Linked DNA regions of Homo sapiens: all the other regions are linked to region 1. The links are contacts of gene promoters, found by promoter capture Hi-C in human tissues and cell types (Jung and others, 2019). All regions are on one chromosome and are shown on one strand. Each heading gives the region's core, a stretch centred on a gene start or on the middle of the fragment in contact. The rest is flanking DNA. Distances are from core to core; before and after follow the strand shown.

Region 1 (3,144 bases), core at 249-2,748:
ATCAGTAACTAAATAAAACTTTATCTTAAAACCTCTATTACACATTGTAGTTCATATTGTATGGGCTCACTCAAGAGTTTATAGAAAGTATTTTTGGATCAGGTAAATGAAATCATCCAACAGCAGTGCCGTTAAAATCTAAACTACAAAGCCCTGTGTGATCTGGCCACTGCCTACATCTCCAACTTCATCTCATAACACTCGCCCCCCCAACCCCAACTTATTGGTCTTTCAAACCACTCCTAGGGCACGTGAAGCTCTTTCCTGCCTCTGCATAGGCGGTTTCCGCTCATTTCTCTTCAGATCTGAGCTGATTATCAGCCCAGAGAGGCCTTCCCAGAACAGCCTATCAAGAAGAGCAACCTCCTTCCCTTTTTGCTATTATCTGGTTTTCTTTTTCCTTTTTTCTTTTCTTTTCTTTTTGAGACGGAGTTTCGCTCTTGTTGCCCAGGCCGGAGTGCAATGCTGCGATCTCGGCTCACCGCAACCTCCGCCTCCCAGGTTCAAGCGATTCTCCTGCCTCAGCCTCCCGAGTACTGAGATTACAGGCATGCGCCACCATGCCCGGCTAATTCTGTATTTTTAGTAGAGCCGGGGTTTCACCATGTTGGTCCGGCTGGTCTCGAACTCCCGACCTCAGGTGATCCGCCCGCCTCGGCTTCCCAGAGTGCTGGGATTACATGCGTGAGACACCGCGCCCGGCCTGCTACCTGGTTTTCATTTCCTTTACTACACTTACACAAGGTCTACTTTATTTGCCTGTTTGCCTCCTTGCTTTATTACTAATAGATCCTCGAGGGTAGTGATTTTGTCTGTCTTCTCTCCTGCAGCCCCGTCACGTAAAGGTGCTGGTCAAAGGAAGGCGGCAATCACCGACCGGACACCAGGGCAAATCAGGGCAGCCCAGTGATTCGAGATGCCGGCTGGGGAATCGGACCCATGTGGGTCTTTTCTCAGCTTCCCCGCTTACTGTGACTTTCATAAGTAACGGAACCCCCTCAACCCGTTTCCTTAAGTGTAAAAAGGCACTAGACACAGCAAGAAGCGGTTCCGGCAGCGCGGAAACCGAAGCACACGCTGGGTGTCACGACAACACGTGGAAGCCGCATTCCGTGCCGGGGCCCTGGCCCTAGCCCCAGCCCCGGCCCCCGGCCCGCCATGTGGCGCGGCTGACCGCGGCCGTGCGCCCACCTGTCTCCCTCTGCGTCTTCACGCTGATGTACTGGCGCAGCTTCTTCACCGCTCGGTCCCGGATGCCCTTCTCGCTGGACGCCAGCCGCTGGGCAAATTGGATCTCGGCCGGCTGCATGGCGGGGGCCATCGCGCCCGCTGGAGCATCCCCGGCCGCGCAACCCGCGGTGCCGCTGCAGCCAGCCGAGCGCTGCGGAGCAGCCAGCCACCGTCCGCCCGGGCCGCGACTGCACAGAAGGCGGCGGCGGCGGCGCGCGGGCTGATGGCGTCACAAAGGCGCCGCGGCTCGCAGCGCGCTCTGGGAGTGAGCGCGGCAGTGGCCCTGGCAGCTGGCGGAGCGGCCCAGCCCGTGTGCACGTGGCGCCGGCGCTGCCTTTCGGTTGCCAAAATTCAGGCTGTAGACGGCGAGGTTAGCCAGGGTTAGGACTTGACCAGGAAGAGACGGAAGGCTGTTTGTAAACGGTCTAGGATTTTTTGTTTGTTTTTGAGACAGGGTCTCCCTCTGTCGCCCAGGCTGGAATGCAGTGGCGCGATCTTGGCGGTGATCCTGGCTCACTGCAGCCTCGACCTCCCAGACTCGATCGATCCTCCCATCTCGACCGCCCAAGTAGCTGAGACTACAGGCGCGCGCCATCACGCCCCACTATTTGTTATTTTTTTGTAGAGACGGTGTCTCGCTATGTTGCCCAAGCTGGTCTCAAACTCCTGGGCTCAAGCAATCCTCCCGCGGCGGCCTCCCTGATCGCTGGGATTACAGGCTTGAGCCGCCGCGCCTGGCCACGGTCCAGGATCTTTAATCCCATTTAGCACACCTCGTTGAGCCAGCAGCTTACCTGCGATCTCCGTGGCGTGGAGTTTTTAACTGTGGAGCCCCCGGGCCCCCGGGTGGAGTTGAGACTGGAAGGAAAGGCCGGCACTGGGGCCTGTTGAGCGGGTGGAGGGCTCGCCTTCCTCCAGTGCCTGCAGAGGCTTGGGCAGATCGGTGCGCCCCTACCCCGGAGCCCTGGTGCCAGTGCAAGGGCGCCCGCGCAGGCGTCCCGAGGCCTGGCGAGCACGCGCGCTTCCAGGGGAGTTGGGCAGGGCGGGCTGCTTGCTAATTCCAGAGAGGGAAGAAATCTTAGCTTTGGGTTCATCTAAAACCCGAGGCCATCCTATATTTTGCGGACTCAGCGGGCGTGCTGGGGCAAGTTAATGGACTAGGTCACTCCACACGTAGCGGGGGTTATCTCAGTTGCTCCGCTCAGTTGTCTAGGCGACCTCCCGAGGTGCCTGTTGACACAAAAATTCAACCCTTAACGTAAAAGCGCCTGAATCCGAGCGAGGGAAGGCGCGCGGAGGCGAGGTTTCCAGCAAAGACTGCCCATTTGAACGCAGTCCCCCTTAGTGTAGCATTCCTCGCCAAACAGGAAAGGACCCATCCGATTTATTTTACTTGACACTTACATCAGGGGCTGACTTTCCTTCTGCTTTGCAGATAACAAGTTTAAAACCCCGGCTAAGCCAGAAGAGCCAAAGAGGGACCTCGCCAAGGCCACTCCTCGCTCTCTAGGCCGAGAATACTGCGCAAATTCTGGGAGGTTTGGGCCTGGCGGCTCTCCGTTCCCGACCCCCGGCGTGGATTCGTTCCCGCGCTTTCTGGCGTGAGGGGTCAGAGGGCGCGCCGACGCTCAGGCGAACGGAGCGGAGGCGGCAGCGGCCATGGGCGAAGCGGGCGCCGCTGAGGAGGCCTGCCGGGTTAGTGAGGAAGCCCTGGCCGACGCCAGCGTGTTTGAACCGTCGCCATTCGCTCCCCTCAGGGCCTCGCCCCGTGCGCTCGGAGACGGCTCGCTGTCGCGTGCTTGGGGGAAGCCTGGAGACTTCCTCCCCTAACGGCGTGGGCTGGGCCGGAGCGGGGTGGAGACCTGGGGCGGGAGGCGACTTCGCCTCCAAACCCACGCGGGGACCCGGTCTGTG
Region 2 (3,144 bases), core at 164-2,663, 710 kb after region 1:
TGAAATAAATTAACTGGTTGTTTAAAGAAAGAAATATTTGTAATAAGTCAGAAAGTTGAGGCATGTGGAAGAATTGTCTGCAAAAGTCAAGAAAGAGAAAAATGTTATAAAAAAGAATTTATGCAAAAAATGTTGTATAATTTAAAAGTAACTAGGCCTCCTGAATGTAAAACTATTGAAAAAAAAAAAAAACAACAGTTTATGTGCAAGGTGTATAAGAAAAGTAAAATATATCTTTGGTAAAAGGATTATAAGGAGGCATAAGAATGTACATTTTTACCTACATTAAAAAGTTAAAAATTTATTGTTTTGAAGGTTTAAGCAAATTTTAAAACATTAATTGTAAAGGAAATTCTGTGTATAAACATATTTGCTAAAGTTAAAGAAGTATCATCCAGTTTTTCTGTGAACTAGACATTAAAGTAAAAGCATAACAGGTTTTTCTTAAAGCACCAACCTGCTCTTTAGCAAAAATTATGAAAGGTTAAAAAGAGTCTATAAAATCGTAACTTACGGTCAAACATTAAAAATTAGATAAATATGTCTACAGGCTTTTATTAAAATTAGGTTTAACATTAATAACACACTAATATAAACATAACATTTAGCTTATCTGGTATAAAAATCATACAAGAAGCATTGTTAAATGTAAAATGGTATTTGGCTTTCTTTGGTTTAAAAACTAATAAAAATAGGTGCTAAAGGAAATTTCTCAGTAAAAAGACACTAAGGACTATAAAGTCCACTGCCAAGGTCCCCACATTTAAAACAAAAGGTCAGTTTCTTAAAAATTATATACTTGGTTTATCTTCCACTTTCCTTTCTCTCAAAAACTAAAAGTCTTTTAGCACATGTACCACCGCTAGAATTTCCAGTAAATCAGCACCAGCCTGAAGATCACGTTCTCATCAAAGGGTGGAAAGAAGAAAAACTTGAGCCCGCCTGGGAAGGACCCTACCTTGTCCTGCTAACCACCAAGACTGCTGTTTTTACAGAAAAAAAAAAAGATGGACTCATCACACCCAAGTCAAGAAAGCGCCACCCCCTCCAGAGGTGGGGGCCATAGTCCCAGGGGAAAACCCTACCAAACTAAAGCTAAGAAAAATGTAACTCTTTTCATCTACTCTATTACTCTTTCTTCTTTCCTCATTCTATTGTTGACCATATAGTTATTAACATAATCAAATCAATTTCACCTCAAACTATTGCATTTAATTCTTGCCTTGTTATACCCTGTGGGGACTTGCCAATTCCAAGACAGCTTTCTACTTCAGAAAAGTATCTCTGCCCCTCCTGACTCTCCTCAGACTGGGCATTAGTAAACGAGGACCATTTAATCCGGGGAGATTTCAATAAACACCCCAGTGCCAACTAGGAGTCTTGCCCCCTGACGTAGAGCTTTCATGCCATAGTTGGTCCAACGTCCTGTGGACCACTAAAGAGCAAGGACGGACTGACCCAACCGGTTTTTATAATTTCCTAAAACCATACATTCATTTTACTAGAGGATCATAGAAGTTAAAGACTTAAAACAAACTTTATCAATTAAGACAGGATACCAAGATGCAAATGCCTAGTTAAAATGGATCAAATATTCCATTTGACATTAAATAAAACCAATTGTTATGCTTGTGCACATGGCAGGCCAGAGGCCCAGATTGTCCCCTTTCCACTAAGGTGGTCCTCCAGTTGACCAGGTGTGGGCTGCATGGTAGCTCTTTTCCAGGATTCTACGGCCTGGAGTAATAAGTCGTGCCAAGCTCTCTCTGCTATATCCCAAAGTCCAGCACCCTGTGGGTCAGCCCCTGAGGGCCATCCAACCTCCGTCTCCCAACACTAAGTTCACTTCGTGTCTCTCATGACAGGGAGGAAACTTCGTGTTCCTTGGAGACCTGAAAGGATGCAGTGAAGCATAAGAATTTTCAAGAGCTTATCAATGAGGCAGCCCTTGTTCATCCCTGAGCGGATGTGTGGTGGTATTGTGGTGGACCTTTACTGGGCACTCTGCCGAATAACTGGAGTGGCACTTGTACTTTAGTCCGGTTGGCTATCCCTTTCACCCTGGCATTTCATCAATAAGACATCATAAAGCGAGAGAAGCTCCTTAGGGGTCTTTCAACTCTCATGTCTATTTAGACGCAATTGGAGTCCCACGAGGAATACCAGATCAATTTAAAGCTTGAAATCAAATAGCTGCAGGATTTGAGTCAATATTTTGGTAGGTGACAGTTAATAAAAATGTAGATTGGATAAACTACATCTATTACAACCAACAGCAACGAGCTTTTCATGAGTTAAAAGAAAACTCACGTCAGCTCCAGCCCTGAGGCTACCTGACCTGACAAAACTCAACATTCTATGTGTCAGAAAGAGAAAAAATGGCAGTTGGAGTTTTAACCCAGACTGTGGGGCCCTGGTCAAGGCTAGTGGTCTATTTCTCAAAACAACTAGACAGGGTTTCCAAAGGCTGGCCCCACGTCTAAGGGCCCTGGCAGCAACAGCCCTGTTAGCACAAGAAGCAGATAAACTAACCCTTAAGCAAAATCTGAATATAAAGACCCCCCATGCTGTGGTAACCTTAATAAATACCAAAGGATATCATTGGTTAACAAATGATAGATTAACCAAGTACCAAATCATGCTATTTGAAAATCCCCACATAACCATTGAAGTTTGCAACACCCTAAACCCCACCACATTTCTCCCGGTATCAGAGAGCCCAGTTGAACATAACTGTGTAAAGGTGTTGGACTCAGTTTATTCTAGCAGGCCTAACCTCTGAGACCATCCTTGAACATCAGTAGACTGTGAGCAGTACGTGGAGGGGAGCAGCTTTGCCAACCCCTGCAAAGTGACTCTGAAGAAGACGACAAGCCCTACTCCAGTCACACCTGGAAGCTGACTGGTCCACACACAGCCGAAGCATGAGAAAACCCATTGCGGGACTCATTTTTCTTAAAATTTGGACTTTTACAGTAAGGACTTCAAATGACCTTCCTCAGACTAAGGACAGTTCCCATTGTATACATCAAGTCACTGAGGTAGGACAAAAGGTTGCTATGGTCCTATTATTTTATGGTTATTATAAGTGTACTGGAACTCTAAAAAGAACTTGTTCGTGTAATGTTATTCTATACAAAGTAT
Region 3 (3,144 bases), core at 271-2,770, 620 kb after region 1:
GCTTCAAAGGCTTGGCAGGCACCCTCACAGGGACACAGGTGCAGCTCATTACAGGCCACCGTTTAAGTTATTTAAGTCCTAAAGACTGCATCTGAGGAACACTGGGTTTCTAATCCTTTCTTTGAGTACTTCATTGCAGAGCTAGTCTATTAGTGGCTTTACAATTCAGGATTTTTGTGGGTTTTTGTGAGATAAGGTCTGGTGCTGTTGCCCAGGCTGGAGTGCAGTGGCACGATCTTGGGTCACTGCAACCTCCACCTCCTGGGCTCGAGTGATCCTACCATCTCAGCCTCCCAAGTATCTGGGACTACAGGCATGCACCACCATGCCAGCTAATTTTTGTATTTTTGGTATAGATGGAGTTTTGCCATGTTGGCCAGGCTGGTCTTAAACTCCTGAGGTCAAGTGATCCACCTGCCTTGGCCTCCCAAAGTGTTGGGATTACAGGCTTAAGCCACTATGCCCGGCCACGATTCAGTCTTATTAAATCAACCAGGTGTCTGTGATGTGGCCCAAAGGTCAGGCTTTTCCTTTCCCGTGCTGAGAGCTGCCCTGTGTCTGGGCATCTTCCTCACCAGATAAGGAGTGGCTCGGGCGCCGCTGGGCCTTTTGCAACCTGCAGCACAGCCCTGGTGGTGGTGGTGGGCCCGGAGTAGGCAGCGAGCCTGCTACTCACCCACCAGGATAGGCACTGGACAGGCCCTGTGGAGTGGCAGGCACCCCTGTCCAGTGTTCAGCCTCTTCCTCTGCAGGGGCTGTCCCTGCCTGTCAGACAGTGAGTCCAGGGATGCCCTGGACCACCACATCCTCGACAGCCCTCAGCTCAAGGGCATATCCGCTGGCTTCTCCCGCCAGGAAGGACAGTGAGGCCTTGGTGGGGCTCAGATGGAGGCTAGCATTCTTTTTAACTAATGAGCGCTTAATTGAAGCAAGTACTGGCACCGAAATAACATTTAAAAAGTGTTCTCTTCGGTGGCTCACACCTGTAATCCCAGCACTTTGGGAGGCCTAGGCAGGCAGATCACCTGAGGTCAGGGGTTCAAGACCAGCCTGGCCAATATGGTGAAACCCCCCGTCTCTACTAAAAATATAAAACTTAGCTGGGTGTGGTGGCACACGCCTGTAATCCCAGATACTTGGGAGGCTGAGGCAGGAGAACTGCCTGAACCCAGGAGGCGGAGGTTGCAGTGAGCCGAGATTGTGCCACTGTACTTCAGCCTGGGTGACAGAGCAAGACTCTGTTAAAAAAAAAAAAAGAGTTAGCTTAACATATTTGATTAAAGCATCATTTTAGAAATGTGAACCGTGTGCTCGCTCAGTGTCTCCTTAGGCTGCAGCTAGCAAGGTTGTGCAGGTGACTCAGGACAGCTCCATCAAAGCTTTGGGAAGCTGTCGGAGGGAAGTCTGAACTGAGAGAGAACGACTCAAAGACGCCTCAGAGAGCCTGAGTGGGCAGCTCCTGCCCGCAACCCCACACCTGGGGCACAGCCCTCTCTGTTGGCTCACACCAAGGTGGCGTTGGCGTCGCGTGAAGAGGCCCGGGGCAGCCCACTCCCTTCCAAGCTCCCCCTAAACTTTGCTTCTTTATGGGTCTAACACCCCCCGCTCAGTGACTGGATCCAGAGACGGCATCGCCGGCGGGCAGCGTGGGTCCATGGCAGGCCCCAGGAAGGCTGGTGCAGGGCTGACATGGTCCAGCACATGCCCAGCACACGACGGGCATGGCCCATGCCAAGGTCCAATGTGACATGACAGAGAACCGGCCACAGAGTCCCGCCTCAGGCACTAAGCCTGTTTAACGACAACCCCCAGAAAAATGGCTTCAGACAGTGGCAACATTTATTTTGCTCACACATCTGTATCTGGAGCGGGGCTCACAGGGGCGGCTGGGCTCTGCTCTGCTCTGCTCATCAGCTGGGGTGGCTCGAGGCACCTGTAGGCTCACTTGTGTGTAGCTGGTGGTCAACGCGGCTGGCAGACAGCACACCTGCATGGCCTATCCCCGCGGCCTGGGCTTCCTTCCAACATGGCACCCGGGCCAAGCCTGAGCCCCCTCAACCCGTCAGTCACATGGCAATTGCCACCCCAGCAGGCCACATAAACCTCCCCAGGGTCAAGAGAGGGGGATCCCCTGGATAGGCAAAATTCCAGAGGGGGACAGGGGACTGGAGATGTCATTCCTGCCATAAGACCCTGGACACTGCCCGAGAGAATCCTTCCATACAGAGAATCAGGAATCAGAACAGCTTTACGTTGCTCAAGGTAAAAGGCAGTGCCTTCAACTCTGAGTAAAAACCATTTCCAAACCCGACTGTTCCCCCTTCCTCATTCCCGTTTCTGTTGAACTCTCACACCATGCACAGAGCTCTGTGTGCACTCCGGAGCGCAGGGCAAAGGCCTCCCCGCCCACCCCGAGTTTGGCAGCTGCCAGAGGGCAGGAAAGGAGAAAACAGGGAATGGGGAACCTGCAGCCTCTTCCCTCCTTCTACCAGGTACAGAGCCACCGGGGAGAGGCAGGAAACATTTTCAACTCAAGGCCTGCCCTGGCTCAGACACTCTCCCGCCCAAGCCACTGTCCAGGTATAAGGCAGAGTTTGGCAGCAGGAGCAGGAGTGGGCACGAGCCCTGCACCCCAAGGGTATAGGACCCACCTGCGATGGAGGCTGGGCCAGGAGCACGCCAAGGAGCCGGAAGCAAGCAGCAGTAGCCCTCTGCCAGGGAGGGCAGGAGCAGACACCAGGCACAGCACAGCATCCAAGGCCTGCTGGCATCTAAGAAGGGGCAGGGCCACTCTGGCACCCACACCATGCACAGGCTGGCTATGGCCACTGCTGGAAGAATCGGAAGCCTGTGGTGCCTGCAGGGACGAAGGCAGCCCCAAGCCCACAGCCCGCTCACCTGGTGACCACACCCACCCAGGGCCTGTCTGAAGGGGAGTGCCTGTTTCTGGGCATGAGGACTATTTATCTTGGTCTCCACATTCTACAAAAAAACCCCGGCATTCAATAAACTATGAGAGAAACAACAGGCAATCCACTGCCACGAAATAAAGCTGTTGACAGAAGTAGACCCAAGCATGTCCTGTGCCAACTGTCACATAGCCACACCCCCACGACACGCCCAGCAGCTCACCCCGTTGCCCTC

Evidence for each region. The method cuts DNA at HindIII sites, captures the fragments that hold promoters and counts their contacts. A contact is called where the count stands out against the background at its distance.
Region 2: a fragment that was not itself captured here is called in contact with the fragment with the promoter of HSF2BP in region 1 in 1 of the 25 tissues and cell types used here (IMR-90 fibroblasts).
Region 3: a fragment that was not itself captured here is called in contact with the fragment with the promoter of HSF2BP in region 1 in 4 of the 25 tissues and cell types used here (H1 embryonic stem cells, IMR-90 fibroblasts, dorsolateral prefrontal cortex and 1 more).

What each region holds. Positions count from the first base shown.
Region 1 is chr21:43,657,842-43,660,985 of GRCh38, reverse strand. It overlaps HSF2BP (heat shock transcription factor 2 binding protein), which reads left to right and starts at 1,498. Exons shown (of 9, transcript NM_007031.2): 1 at 1,498-1,600; 2 at 2,666-2,925. The coding sequence starts at 2,890. RRP1B (ribosomal RNA processing 1B) reads right to left here and starts at 1,426. Exons shown (of 16, transcript NM_015056.3): 1 at 1,192-1,426. The coding sequence starts at 1,321. RefSeq lists an enhancer at 434-483 and a silencer at 1,204-1,393. The HindIII fragment of the contact is 9,655 bases long and covers 1-3,144 here.
Region 2 is chr21:42,945,098-42,948,241 of GRCh38, reverse strand. LOC124905023 (a long non-coding RNA gene) reads left to right here. Exons shown (of 2, transcript XR_007067882.1): 2 at 1-3,144. Among named protein-coding and RNA genes, the nearest start is that of MIR5692B, 4.3 kb to the left of the region's middle. The HindIII fragment of the contact is 8,157 bases long and covers 1-3,144 here.
Region 3 is chr21:43,038,093-43,041,236 of GRCh38, reverse strand. No RefSeq gene overlaps it. Among named protein-coding and RNA genes, the nearest start is that of CBS, 36 kb to the left of the region's middle. The HindIII fragment of the contact is 8,976 bases long and covers 1-3,144 here.